Regions from separate parts of the Homo sapiens genome. Here region 2 is linked to region 1. The links are contacts of gene promoters, found by promoter capture Hi-C in blood cells and fetal thymus (Javierre and others, 2016). All regions are on one chromosome and are shown on one strand. Each heading gives the region's core, a stretch centred on a gene start or on the middle of the fragment in contact. The rest is flanking DNA. Distances are from core to core; before and after follow the strand shown. Region 1 holds the start of DHCR7 (7-dehydrocholesterol reductase). Region 2 holds the start of SLC3A2 (solute carrier family 3 member 2).

What was found. The method cuts DNA at HindIII sites, captures the fragments that hold promoters and counts their contacts. A CHiCAGO score of 5 or more calls a contact.
Region 2: a fragment that was not itself captured here is called in contact with the fragment with the promoter of DHCR7 in region 1 in 1 of 17 cell types (neutrophils); the score reaches 6.0 in neutrophils.

What each region holds. Positions count from the first base shown.
Region 1 is chr11:71,446,440-71,453,393 of GRCh38, reverse strand. It overlaps DHCR7 (7-dehydrocholesterol reductase), which reads left to right and starts at 5,001. Exons shown (of 9, transcript NM_001360.3): 1 at 5,001-5,104; 2 at 5,660-5,784. It overlaps DHCR7-DT (DHCR7 divergent transcript), which reads right to left and starts at 4,866. Exons shown (of 2, transcript NR_186309.1): 1 at 4,509-4,866; 2 at 1,237-1,704. It overlaps NADSYN1 (NAD synthetase 1), which reads right to left and starts at 191. Exons shown (of 21, transcript NM_018161.5): 1 at 13-191. The coding sequence starts at 97. RefSeq lists enhancers at 1-35, 1,273-1,352, 1,473-1,522, 4,468-4,969 and silencers at 93-462, 4,695-5,334. The HindIII fragment of the contact is 9,377 bases long and covers 1-6,374 here.
Region 2 is chr11:62,873,599-62,880,942 of GRCh38, reverse strand. It overlaps SLC3A2 (solute carrier family 3 member 2), which reads right to left and starts at 47. Exons shown (of 9, transcript NM_001013251.3): 1 at 1-47. RefSeq lists enhancers at 1-25, 1-306, 676-725. The HindIII fragment of the contact is 6,323 bases long and covers 1-4,472 here.

The DNA of each region.
Region 1 (6,954 bases), core at 3,752-6,251:
CCCCAGACTCACTCTTTAAAATTCTTTGCAAATTGCCCTCGAAGTCCAGGGCCCACTGGTTGAGTGCGCAGGTGGCCACGGTCACCTTCCGGCCCATCCTGGCCGCAGTCGCTTGGGCAGGAGGCCAGCGGGGGACAGCAAGACCAGGGTCCCAGCGAGGTAGGCGGCTGGGACGCCGGACCTTCCGGGTTGCCCGGCCCCGCCCCCTCCCCGCCCATCCGTTGAGGCTCCGGCCAAGGAGGACTGCGGCGTCAGGCCCTGCCTACGGATCGCCCCGCCCCGTCTGAGGAGCTCACGACCGCGCCTGCGCAGCGAGGTGGCCTCAGCGTTCACGGCACCGCGAAGGGCCCCGCCCCCGCCCCGGCTCCACCCACGTCCCAGGCCCCGGCCCCGGCCCGGCCCTTGCGGGCAAACCCGTTCAGGTGCACAGGTGCAGGGGGCTCACCGCCCAGCTGCAGCACCCCTCTATTTTATCCCACACCGCCACCCCACATCCAGCTTAGCCATGTTTTATTTTAATACGGCATGAAACGTTCCAAATACACCAAAAGTGGAGAGTACGGTAGGAGCGCTCCATCGTGCCCGCGGGACAGCAGACGATAGCAATCGATTCTCCGTGCTGGGAATCCCGCCACCCTGGGCGGATGGCGCTGAATTCTTGGGAACCCTCTCCTGCCCCTTTCACTCCTGTACCACGTGTGTAAGTAGCTCAGGTAGCGCACTGTTTGCCTTTTCTGAAACTACAGGAACTGCACTTGAATGTGCTTCTGCAACTTGATTTTTTCCCCTGTAATATGAGATACGTTCTTTTAATTATTTTTCTGCAGTTTGGTATTCCATAGTGGCAGTAAAGCAGGTTTATTCAATAGCGGATGGGCATTGACGTTATTAGCAGCGTTTTGCCAACAGACGCACGCACACAGGCACTGCTGCAATTTCCTTTCCGGCAAGGTTTCCTTCGTGACCTCGTTCCGCCAGTTCCTGCAGCAGCTTTGCAGAGTAGTAGGGTTCGTGCTGTTTGACTTTACTAAATATTGCCAAGTCTCTTCTCCAGGGCGCTTGCACCGATTCACTACCAGCGGTTTCTCACTTTTTATTTTTTCACATTTCCTCTTTAGTCCACCCACGGTAGAATCCATTTTTCCCCCATATAAATAACTGCCTCATCATCGTTGCTTGAAGAGGCCATCCTTCCTTCTGTCATTCATGTTAGTTTAAAAACACACAATTCACAAATTTGGAAAAAGAGAAGGCTTTATTTCTTGTAAACGGTCGTAGCCTGCAAGGTGGCGGCCATCTGTCTGAGGCTGGGAATCTGTCTCCAGCCAAGGCCAGAGACAGGCACGTCCAAGGAGGAGGGGTTGGGGCAGGAGCGCTATGCTGAAGGGATTGGCTAAACATACATATTCAACAGGTAACAGGAGGAGCTATGAATATTCATGAAGGTGGTCCTGACACATGCCCTCTTATTGAGCAAAGCATGTAATATATGACCCATGTTCACTTTGGGGTGGAGACTTAACATTTACACATCTTACAATTAGGGCCTTTATGGCAAAACGTCTTTTCAGGACACAAAGGCATGCAGGTGCATCATCTCTCTCTATTAACGGGTCAGCTGGTCGGCATGGTCAGCTGGTCGGTGGTCTCTTATTAGGAGAAAGTCACTGAAATCAGTCTCTTGTCCAATCACAGCTGCTATGGCTGGTGAAACAGAGTCAGTTAGTTGGCACCTAGTGGAGCTGCAATTGTTTTAATATTCCCTATCCCAAGGCTAGTGTGTGTTTGGCTAATAGAGAAACAGAAAGCCTTGTGGCTCTTAGAATATAGTTTATTCTCTAAGTGTGGGTTGCCTGACTTACCCTCGCCTAGCATGGCTTTGGGTCCTGTTTATAATTTGGTATCTTATTGCCACAGAGTCCGTTCTGTCAGTCTTACGATCTCTGTTTTAACATGAATGCCGGCCAGTTGTGGTGTCCAAACTCTGAAACAGGGGGCTATTACCAGGCGCATCTGACCTCCCATCCCATCATGTCTGGGAATTCAGTGTTGAGGTTTTTCTGGTGTCCCCTTGGTCAGGAGAAGGTCCCTTTGGTCAATGGGGGGCTTAGGATTTTATTTTTACCTTATGTACATATACCCGTTTTCACATTTTGAATCACTTTTTTTCCTGTCTATAAAGTAGTGCTTGTTCATGACAATTTGGAAACTCCACAAAAGCACCAGAATGTTATACATGCTAACTTATTTAATCCTCACAGTAGTTTTCATGCTTCTGAAATCCACACGATCTGCTCAAATTATCTCCTGCCAACAATGGCTGATGCCAGGCCTGGGCAGAGAAGGGGAGGATCCTTGAACATCTGGTTGTCCCAGAAAATAAGTAAGTACTCAAAGGATGGTAGATACATGTCATATGAAAAAAGAAGCCAATTTGAAGGGGCTCCCGTTAGCTAAATACAGGACAATACAGTAAGGATCATAACTCGGTCAGCTAAATCCATTAGGGCATACTGATAAAAAATAAATCAAAGAGGAAATCCCTACAGAAGAATGCTTGCTAATAAATAATTTATTAATAAATGTTGAGGGAATGATAAAATTAGAAAATTAACACTTTGTCCCAAGAAATAAGGGATTCAGGCAAGATTCCTCATTAAATGCTAGTTCACTGGGTGAAAGGTCATTTGGGAACAGCATATTTACAGTCTCAAAGTATCACTGCACCAATTACTCATTAATAACAAAAGGAAAAATGGAGACTTCTGGCAGAAACCACGGAGCCCCACTATCAATCATGGAGCACAGTGATATGTTGTCTTAAAAAAGAAAATTTTAGGACTCTTGAAATTTATTAGGTCAACTTGGGCAACAGAGCAAGATCCTGTCTTTAAATAAATAAATAAAAATAAATAAATTTATTATGTCAAGAGGGAAGTTAAGTCCTAGAAACTGGGTCACATAGCATGTTTGTAATTTTGTCTTTTAGATTATAGGCTGTTTTTCTTTATCATTCATGTTTTATAAATGACTAGGAGAGACCACAGACCAGGCCTGCTCCCCTTTTAATTACTGATCTTTATTATAGATTGTCTCTTATTATCCCGTACTTAGACCAGACTCCTACATCTTCAGTGTAAAATGTTAAATATACCTTCCACCTAAAAAAGACCACCTCAGCTGGTCAGATTATAACTTTATGCATAAAAAGATGTTAAAATTCTGTTAAACTTCCCTAAAATTTGTCTACATAAATGATCCCAAACATCTACAGTTCAAAATACTGATTTCCATTCTTTAAAATCTGTGCTTCCCAGGCAGCCTGTCCTCAAACTTTATACACTTAAATAAACTCTCTTTAAGCTAAATTCTGACCTGTTTGGTTATTTCAGGTTGACAGCCTTCTAACAAGATAAAACATGCTCTATGTAGTATATTATCCTGCCAAAAAAAGTGCATAGCCTGAATGCACAGTGTGGCTCCCTGATTAGATCCTGGGGTTTAAAAAAGGGCTGTAGGGCAGAGCTTCACACCTGTAGTCCCAGCACTGTAGGAGGCCACAGTGGGTGGATCGCTTGAGCCCAGGAGTTCGAGACCAGCTTGGGGAACATAGTGAGACCCCCCCCCCCACCCATCTCTACCAAAAAAAAAATAGCGTGTGGTGGTGTGCTCTTGTAGTCCCAGCTACTCAGGAGGGTGAGGGAAGAGAATCGCTTGAGCCCAGCAGTTCAAGGCTGCAGTGAGCTGTGATCGTGCCACTACACTCCAGCCTGTGTGACAGAGACCCCCGTCTTAACAAAGCAAAACAAAACAACAATAACAAAAGGGCTGTAAAGGGCATTATTGGGACAACCGCGGGAAACTGGAGATGGAAAATAGATAACAGCATTGAACTGATGTGGTCATTGTATTTTGGTAATATAGGAGGTTCTTGTTCTTAAGGAGTTGGATACCGAAGTATTTGGGAGGGGGGTATCACGGTATCTGCAGCTAATGGTGGGGGCTGAGTGGGGAGGAAAAAAGAAAAATACACATATATAAACACAGAGGGAGAGAAATGAAACGTGGCCAGCTGCTCACCCCTGCTGAACCTAGGAATCTGCGTGCTCACTTTACGTTCAACTTGTTTGTATGCTGAACATTTTTCAAAACAAAAAGGTGCAGGGAAAAAAGAAAACATGATGTCTCTCTGAGGGCCACAGAGACGTGGCAACCAGATCGCTCTGACAGTAAGGCCTGTTACCCGAGCTGTTGGGTGTGGGGTCAGCAGACACCTTCAGCTGCCCCCTCCTCCAGGGCTGCCTCGCCCCAGGTCATGCCCTCGCAACGTGGCCCGTGCGTCCGGCTCGCACTGTGGCTCAGCTTCTCCCTTTGCCCAGTCCTGCTGCTCCCTCCCCTCCCGTCCTCGCACAGGTGTGCCCCCCTAATAAGCAGGCCACCCAGACTCCATCTCGGGTCACTTTGGCGGTCTCCCAGCGGCGAGCCTTCCCTGACACCCATGTGTTTACCTGATCGTTTATGGAGGATCCTCTTCGCCCCGGGACGTGAGCCCTAGGACCAAGAACTGTGTCTGTTTTGCTCCTTGCGGTGCACCGGCGCCTGGACATACGCTCCATCAATGTGCGTCGCGAGCCGCTGAAGCCCCATTTGCCGAGGGGGAAACTGAGGCACGATGATCCAGGTGATGAGCCTGGCGCGTTCTCCGCGCGGCCCACGTGGCCACTCCGCCACGCCCCACCCCCAGCTGGTCAGCTGGGATCCCGAAGAAGCGCCAGAGGCTGCGCCCACCCACTAGGGCCCGGGCGGGCCGGTGGGGCGGCAGGGCGGGGCCTGGGCCGTCAATCTCGAGTCCGGCCGCTGCCGAATGGCGGGCGCGGTGGGCCCGGAGTCAGCTCAGGCTCCTCGACCAATCACGGGGCGCGGAGCCGCCGGGCGTGCAGGGTCCGCCTCCGATTGGCAGGCAATCGCTGACATCATCCGGGGGCGGGCGCCCCTGCCCTGCGGGTGACTCCGACCCCTGGCTAGAGGGTAGGCGGCGTGGAGCAGCGCGCGCAAGCGAGGCCAGGGGAAGGTGGGCGCAGGTGAGGGGCCGAGGTGTGCGCAGGTGAGTGGCCAAGGTGTGCGCAGGTGAGGCCAGGGGAAGGTGTGCGCAGTGGGGGGCGCTTGCCCAGGTGAGCAGGTGCCCACTCACAGGGCGAGGGTGGGGTCAGGGGTAGGGGGCGTGCGCGCAGGTGGGGAGAGGGTCCAGCTCACAGGCGAGGGGCCGCTGGGGCTCCGGGGAGGCGGGGCGGAGGCGTGGATAGTCCCCCTCCCCCACGAGCCGGCGTCTGAGGGATGCTCTGTCCCCGCGCTGTCTGGAGCTTCCCCGGGCGAAGGCTGCCTGGCTCCGGGGTCGGCTCCTGGCCCCATGCCGCGCTCCGCGGCGGCTCTTTCTCCTGCCCCACCTGTTGTTCGCCTCCCTCTTTGTCAGTGCTGAGCCAGGCACAGCAGCTTTGCGATGGGACTGGCTTGTCCGCCGTCCTCCCTGACATGCGGCTGTTGAAGCCCTGAGCACTGGACCTTCTGCCTCTTGCTTGACTCCTACTGTGGGCCTTGAGCTTCTGCCCTCTCCTGAAATGTCAGCTGCCTGCGGTCTTATTCATTTTTGTGTTCCTTGCAGGACTTTAGCCGGTTGAGAAGGATCAAGCAGGCATTTGGAGCACAGGTGTCTAGAAACTTTTAAGGGGCCGGTTCAAGAAGGAAAAGTTCCCTTCTGCTGTGAAACTATTTGGCAAGAGGCTGGAGGTAAGTGTATCTCAGTGCCCTGGATCGTGGGCGCAGGCTATGGCTTCACAGCGTTGAAAGTACAGACAGACTGGTCCACCAGCTCTCGAGTGCCAACGACTGTCTGTGCCTCTTATGAGTAAAATACAACATACCAGGGCACCTCCCCTTTGTCTGTTCCCAGCCGTCTATTGGGAAGGATGTTACTTAGATGTTTATTGCACAACTCAATGCTTGTGGCTAAAGAGCTGACTCCTGGGTGAATGAACTCTGTAATAAGCTAAAAGTACTTCTTTGGTCTTGTTTTAATCCCTTTTGACAACATTCTCCCAGTGGCTTTTTCACACTTTAGTTCTGAGGTTACACATCCCCTGACCCTTTTGCAATTTCCCAGTGTTTTACATAATTGATAATGTTGGTACCAGGCATTGTCCCCTTGTAGCTTATCCATGGCTTGGGGCAAGACGAATGCCACCCCATTCTACTTAGCCTTCCTGTAAGGCAAGTGTGCATGTGGGTGGTCTGGATTAACACCAGTCAGTGTGGGAACTAGGGATCGGAGGGAGTGGGGGCACTGAGCTGGTAAGTTTTGGCTGGGAAGAAACTAAGCTTGTATCTTACCTTGATGAGAGCCTGGGGGAGAGGAACTGTCTAAAGCAAGCCAGCTTGTCCAGGTGGCTGTGATCTTGAGATCAGACTCACTAGCGTGTCAGCTTTTCTCAGAAGTAGTTTTCTTTCATCCACTTTGATTTTACAGATATAAGGAGAGTGACTGGCACTCGCCAGGCTCTGTATTCAGTATTTGGGGCCGGAGAGAGACACGGTCTCTTCCTATCAAGAACTCTTCGTCTTGTTTTGTGCATCATAGGAACTGCATAAACTAACTTGTGTAAATTGAATGAAGTGCGGGTACTGAAGTTCTCACACTGCATAAGGAAAATGTCTTTCATCGTTGAAATTTTTTAAATGTGTGTGAATTTTTATTAAAGTAATTCATGCACACATTTTTTTAAAAATCAGTGTTAAAAGGCTTCAGAAGAAATACTCTCTACCACATCCCACATCCGACAGTCTTGCTTGCCAGCAGCAAACACTTTTCATTCTTTCAGCTACTTTTGTGTTGTTGTTTGTACCTACTTGTTTCTAAGTAATTTCCTTTTAGTACCCCTAACTTTGCAAATTCCCTTCTGT
Region 2 (7,344 bases), core at 62-2,561, 8.6 Mb after region 1:
GCTCTCCCCGGCCTCTGTGCCTCCGCGCAGTTTCGGCTACTGCATCTGCTCAGCAGCAGGCGCGGCCTCTGGGAAGGGGCAGCGGAGCCCCGCCCCGGCCCGCCCCTTAAGGTGGAACCTCGGGGACTGCCCCAGCCGTGGGCGGCTCAGGGTAGTAAAGTCAGGAACACGCCTCCGACAGTACTTCCTGCATGGTCCAATTTCTCATCTCCAACCTGTCTAACCCTAAAGTTCTTTTCAACCTGATTCTGGGAAGGCCTGGCACGGAGCCACCTTTAAGTGGACTAGGCCTGTGATCCTGCCCCAAATCCCGAGGCCCCTCCAGTGTCCTTTAGGCCTTACCGCCCCCAAACGCCCCTCTTCTTCCATTCCGGCAGGCTAGTGACTACCCCAACACCATCCTCCATTTGCCCCTGGTTCACGGCTCCGGCCGCCGTCTGGTTTTCCCAACTTTGCATGGCTACTTGCACTCTCAGAGGCAGCCAGTCACAACTTCTGCCTTTTCCCCCACCAAGGCTTGCCCTCTCAGGCCTCTGGGACTTGGCGCTAGACCTCTGCTAGACCTCTGCTTCCGTGCACGGCTTACTCCCACTCGTTTTTCAAGACTCATCTTGAATTCATTTCAAGAAATTCCTCATGCAGCAACTATTTATTGTGTACTCACTACAATACTTTGCTTTGTTAACTTTATTGAATTTAACACTAATCCAGCCTTCTTCACAGTACTTTAAAATGAATGGTTTGGGCAGGAAGGTTGAGGTAGACACCCCCCTTCTTATCCTACCCCACCCCCAGCTGCTAGCACCTGGATGTTTGGCAGCTAGGAATCAGACATCCAGAAGAGACTGATAGGGCTGTAATGAACATAACAGAGCTAGGTCTCAGAGGCATCCACCTTTTTTGTGGAATAGACCAGAAGATGCCATGGCCAGACTCTTACCCACCTTGCAGGAACTCCCACAGTTATCCCCAAACTCCCCCAAGGTCCTGTCTCCCTATCACTTCACTATGTTAGGCCTTGGAGGCAGCTGGTACTGCAGAGGCTTTGAAGAAGCCTAGAATTCCCTCCACAGGGTCCTTGGATTGAAGTGGGGCAGAGACAGGGTTCACAGCAGGGAACTACCGGACATCAACACCGTGGGGTGCCAACACTCTCAGGAACTCCTTGTTCCTAAACAGTGCCAGTTGGGCTACTTTCAGAGAGGAGCTGGAGGAAATCGGTTCTTTCTCCCTTTCCCACCTAGGCTGGAAGCCAAGATTGCTGTGTATTTGGAAGAAAGCAAAAGCCAAGATCTGAAGTAATAGCATAGAGAAAAGGGTCACCCTCTGCTAGTCCCCTCTGCAACCCCAGGCATCCAACCCCATCCCCACCCTAGGAACAAGGGGTGCACGGGGCAGCCCCTGGGAGAAGGCAAGCAAGTGGGTTCAGACCAGTGCTCAAAGATAATAAGAGATCCAAGGTGCCCTGCATGTGCCAGATAAGAAGTGCCAACCAGAGGTTCTGAATGGACTATATCTCGAGCACAAAAGCTCAAGGCTGGGCGCAGTGTGACTCATGCCTGTCACCTAGCCCTTTAGGAGGCCAAGGAGGGAGGATTCCTTGAGGCCAGGAGTTTAAGACCAGACGGGGCAACATAGTGAGACTCCATTTCTAAATAAATAAAAAAATAAATTTTAAAATTATCTGGGCCTGGCTGGGTGTGGTGGCTCACACCTGTAATCCCACCTACTAATCCCTGTAATCCCACTTCTCATGCTGTGGCATGAGAATCGCTTGAACCCAGGAGGTAGAGGTTGCAGTGAGCCAAGAATGGGCCACTGCACTCCAGTCTGGGTGATAGAGCAAGACTCTGCCTCAAAAAAACTAACAGGCCAGGTGTGGTGGCTGACACCTGTAATCCCAGCACTTTGGGAGGCTGAGGGTGGCGGATAACTTGAGGTCAGGAGTTCGTGACCAGCCTGGCCAACATGGTGAAACCCCATCTCTACTAAAAATACAAAAATTAACTGGACATAGTAGCACACGCCTGTAGTCCCAGACTTGGAGGGGTGAGGCATGAGAATCGCTTGAACCCGAGAGGCAGAGGTTGCAGTGAGCCAAGATTGCGCGGCTGCACTCCAGCCTGGGTGACAGAGTGAGACTCTGTCTCAAAAAAGAAAAAAAAAGGCCAGGCGTGGTGTCTCACACCTGTAATACCAGCACTTTGGGAGGCCGAGGCAGGTGGATCAAGAGGTCAGGAGACCGAGACCATCCTGGCTAACACAGTGAAACCCCGTCTCTACTAAAAATGCAAAAAAAAAAAAAAAAAATCAGCCAGGCGTGGTGGCGGGTGCCTGTAGTCCCAGCTACTTAGGAGGCTGAGGCAGGAGAATGACGTGAACCTGGGAGGCGGAGCTTGCAGTGAGCCAAAATCGCGCCACTGCACTCCAGCCTGGGATACAGAGCAAGACTCCGTCTCAAAAAAAAAAAAAATTATCATCTGTAATTGGTGATGTGCCCCTGGAGTCCCATGAGATGCCAACACTCAAGGGAAGCAAAAGCAGGAGGATCACTTGAGTCCAGGAGTTTGTGAGGCTGCAGTGAGCCATGGTGGCACCACTGCATACCAGCCTAGGAGACAGAGCGAGACCCTGTCTCTAAAAATAAGTAAGAACAAGGTTGAGAACTGTGGGGTCAGAAGCTGTCTTTGAGATGGTCCAACATGACACAGTATCTCACTCACAGATCCTCATGGCTCCAAATGGCTGAAGTCAATTCCTTTTGTTTTTTGTTTTTTTTTTTTTGAGACAGGGTCTCACACTGTCACCCAGCATGGAGTGCAGTGGCGCGATCTCAGCTCACTGCAACCTGTGCCTCTCAGGTTCAAGCGATTCTTCTTCCTGAGCCTCCCCAGTAGTTGAGATTATAGGAGGCGTGCACCGCCACACCCGGCTAATTTTGTATTTTTAGGAGAGACAGGGTTTCACCATGTTGGCCAGGCTGGTCTTGAACTCCTAACTTCAGGTGATCTGCCCGCCTCAGCCTCCCAAAGTGCTGGGATTACAGGCATGAGCCACTGTGCCCAGCCTGAAGTCAATTCCTTCTGCATGCATAAAGAGGATAACAGCTTGCCTCTCCAATCTTATCAGCCACCACCTGCTTCACAGGCACTAGCCTCCAGCCACATCAGCCTTCAAACACCTGCCAGACTCACAACACACCAGGCTTTTTCAGGCAGAGCTCTGCATCTTGTACATGCCATACCTCTGCTGTTGGCCCTTCCTGTTTGTCCACTCAACCTCATGAGTTCCTATTCATTCAAGATCTAGCTCAAGTGACAGCTTTTCTCAACTCCCCAGACAAAATTACTTTCCCTCCACCATGCATCTGCCTCTGCTACAATCATGTCCCATTTGTTTATTACATTTGTTTGTCTGGATGTCTCTTTGTCCTTGAAGACAAGTGGCAGGAGCCTTGTGCTATTGTGGACGAACCTGCCTATTCGGAGGCAGCATATAGTAGGCACTTCGCAAGTGTTTGGTAAATAAGTGGATGAACTATGTCAATCAAAACCAATATCTCCCTTCTTAGAAACAACTAAACAGGCTAGGCACGGTGGATCACACCTGTAATCAGCACTTTGGGAGACCAAGGCAGGCAGATCAATTGAGGTCAGGAGTTCAAGACCAGCCTGGCCAACATGGTGAAACGCTGTCTCTACTAAAAATACAAAAATTAGCCAGGCGTGGTGGTGGGCACCTGTAATCCCAGCTACTCCGGAGGCTGAGGTGAGAGAATCACTTGAACCCAGGAGGCAGAGGTTGCAGTGAGCCCAGATCGCACCACTGTACTGCAACCTGGACAACACAGCAAGACTATCTCTCAAAAAAAAAAAAAAAGAAAAGGAAGAAGAAAAAAGAAACAACTGAAAAAAACTAGCATGTGAAGACAAAGGCAGGAAAATGAAAAGGAATTTAAATAACGCTGTATCATATCAAGATAAACCTGTTGCTGCAGGAAAACAAACCAAGACTTGTAACTGTTCAACCAAAATAAAACAAACTGCCAGGCACTGTGGCTCACCTGTAATCCCAGCACTTCCGGAGGCCGAGGCAGTCGGATCAATTGAGGTCAGGAATTCAATATCAGCCTGGCTAACATGGTGAAACCCCGTTTCTACTAAAAATACAAAAATTAGCCAGGTATGGTGGTGCGTGCCTGTAATTTCAGCTACTCAGGAGGCTGTGGCAGACAAATCACTTGAACCCATGAGGCAGGGATTGCAGTGAGCCAAGATCGCGCCATTGCACTCCAGCCTGGGCAACAAGAGCAAAACTCTGTCTCAAAAAAATAATATAAAATATAATAATAAAACTAATAAATTAGGAGATGGAGGACAGGAAAACAAAAAGACTACAGAGAAAAGACTAGAGAAATGGACCAGAGGTGAGTAAAGAGCCTCAGATCCTGCCATATGTGTTGATATAAAGCTTAATATTTACTATAGGAACACAAAGAATATAATTTTTCAAGAATTTAGCCTTCAAGAGAAGGCTGGGCAAAGCAAAGGAAAAAAAGCAGTTTGGCAGCCCAGATGCCAATAAGGTCCACTTTACACTCAGACAGACAGATGGCGGTGGAGCCCTGAAATGCAGGGGGCCAAGTATATAAAGAAAGTTCCTTTCTAACCCTCTGCTGCAAAAATCCATGTCACATGCTTCCTAACACATGAGGATTATTACTTGATCTTAGCCTGAAAACAGGACATTTATTTTTCCTCAAACATGTAAAAAGGATTGACCAGGCACAGCAGCTCATGCCTTTAATCCCAGCGCTCTGGGAAGCTAAGGCAGGAGGATCACTTAAGCCCAGTAGTTTGAGACCAGCCTCGGCAACATAGGGAGACCCCATCTCTACAAAAATTAACAAATTAGCCAGGCATGGTGGCTCACCCCTGTGGTCCCAGTTACTAAGGAGGCTGAAGTGGGAGGATCACTTGAGCCCTCAGGTTGAGGCAGCAGTGAGCTGTGATCACAATCACACCATTGCATTCCAGCCTGGCTGACAGGGTGACCCTATCTGAAAACAAACAAACAGGCTGGGCGCAGTGGCTCATGCCTGCAATCCCAGCACTTTGAGAGGCTGAGGCGGGCGGATCACCTGAGGTCAGGAGTTTGAGACCAGCCTGGCCAACGTGGTGAAACCCCATCTCTACTAAAAATACAAAAATGAGCTGGGCATGGTGGTGGCTGCCTGTAATCCCAGCTACTCAGGAGGCTGAGGCAGGAGAATCGCTTGAACCTGGGAGGCAGAGGTTGCAATGGGCCCAGATCGTGCCATTGCACTTCAGCCTGGGCAACAAGAGCAAAACTCCATCTCGAAAAATAAACAAACAACTAAAAACATCTAAGAAGGACTTTTTTTTTTGAGATGAAGTCTCGCTCTGTCGCCCAGGCTGGAGTACAGTGGTGCGATCTCAGCTCACTACAAGCTCTGCCTTCCAAGGTTCACACTATTCTCCTGCGGACTCCAGGTGCCCACCACCACGCCCAGCTAATTTTGATTTTTTTGTGTATTTTTAGTAGAGACGGGGTTTCACCATGTTAGCCAGGATGGTCTTGATCTCCTGATCTCGTGATCCACTCGCCTCGGCCTCCCAAAGTGCTGGGATTACAGGCGTGAGCCACCGTGCCCGGCCACATCTAAGAAGGATTTCTAAAGGCAGAGAGAAGATGGGAGGACAGCTAGAAACTCTTCAGGAGACTGTCTCTGTCCAACAGCCTCCATAAATCTTCGAAAGCCCAAGACTCTATTCCAAAGACCCAGAAACAAAACATCAAAGCTGCCTCTAAAATACCAATCAGCCAGAAATCTTGAAGATTTTAGCCATTTGAAAAATGAGGCCAGTGTGGTGGCTCATGCCTGTAATCCCAGCATTTTGGAAGAATGAGGCGGGCAGATCATTTGAAGTCAGGAATTCGAGACCAGCTTGGCCAACATGGCAAATCCCCATCTCTACTAAAAATACAAAAATTAGTCGCACACGATGGCGGGTGCCTGTAATCCCAGCTACTTGGCTGAGGCAGGAGAATCCCTTCAACCTGGGAGGCGGAGGTTGCAGTAAGCTGAGATTACACTGCACTCCAGCCTCGGTGACAGAGCAAGACTCTGTCTCCAAAAAAAAAAAAAAGAAAAAGAAAAAGGAAAGATGGGTGAGGAATTGAGCATTTGGAAGTCAAAGCGTGGCTGAAATTAAAGCAGAGAAAAAGACTCCAACTAAAGCAGTTCACTTCGCAGCTACTATCTGAAGAACCCATGTCAGAATACTATTAATTGTTACTATGAATCCTATAGGAGGGACACTGGCTGCTAAAGAAGAGACCTGTCAGGGTTGTCTTACTAAAGGGTGAAGAATGCAAAGTGGGGATAAAAGCCAGAAAGAGTGAAAGAAATAGAACCAAAGTCATCTCTTAGGAGAAGAGAAATAAATGCACCATCTGAAAAGTATCCAGTATTCAAGTAAGTTAGACAAATGAAAAACATTGCAGCAAGCCATTCTCTCAAATGAAACCAAATACTAAAAGATAAACACCAGAGAAATAGCAGGTCAGTATGTGGAAAATATGGGGTAGTACTTTTAACATATTATCCTTGGATTAATGACATCAGATATTCAACTGATCAGAGACAGAATACTTAATCTCATCAAAAAAGATAAGTAGCAATAAGAGACCTTAAAATGATCACTGAGGCCCTCCAACAGCAGCTATTTCTGCAGTCATGATCACACAATACTGCATCCTCATTTTCTCCCTCCCCTGGCCCTCCAAAACTTTGTCATCACACTCTGAGGAAGAGAATCACTAAGCGCAGCCTGCACTCAAGATGTACAGAGTTAAACTCTGTATCTCTGGGCAGAGGGAAGATCTACATAAATTATTTGAGACTCTTTCTCCAAAAAAAAAAAAAAAAAAAAAAAAAAAAAAAAAAAAATTAGCTGGGCATGGTGCAAGTACCTGGGGTCCCAGCTACTTGGGAAGCTGAGGTGGGAGGGACCACTTGAGCCCAGGAGGTTGAAGCTACAGTGAGTTATGATTGCACCACTGCACTCTAGCCTGGGCAACAGAGCTAGAACTGGTCTAAAATAATTAAAATAAAAATTAGAAATAAACAAAAAAACAAATAACTGATGAGCCTGGCCAGGTGCCATGGCTCACGCCTGTAATTTGGGAGGCCAAAATGGGAGAATCATTAGAGCCCAGAAGTTTGAGACCAGACAGGGCCACGTAGCAAGACCCCGTGTCTCTATAAAAAAAAGTTTGATTTTAATTAGCTGGCCGGGTGTGGTGGCTCACACCTAGTAC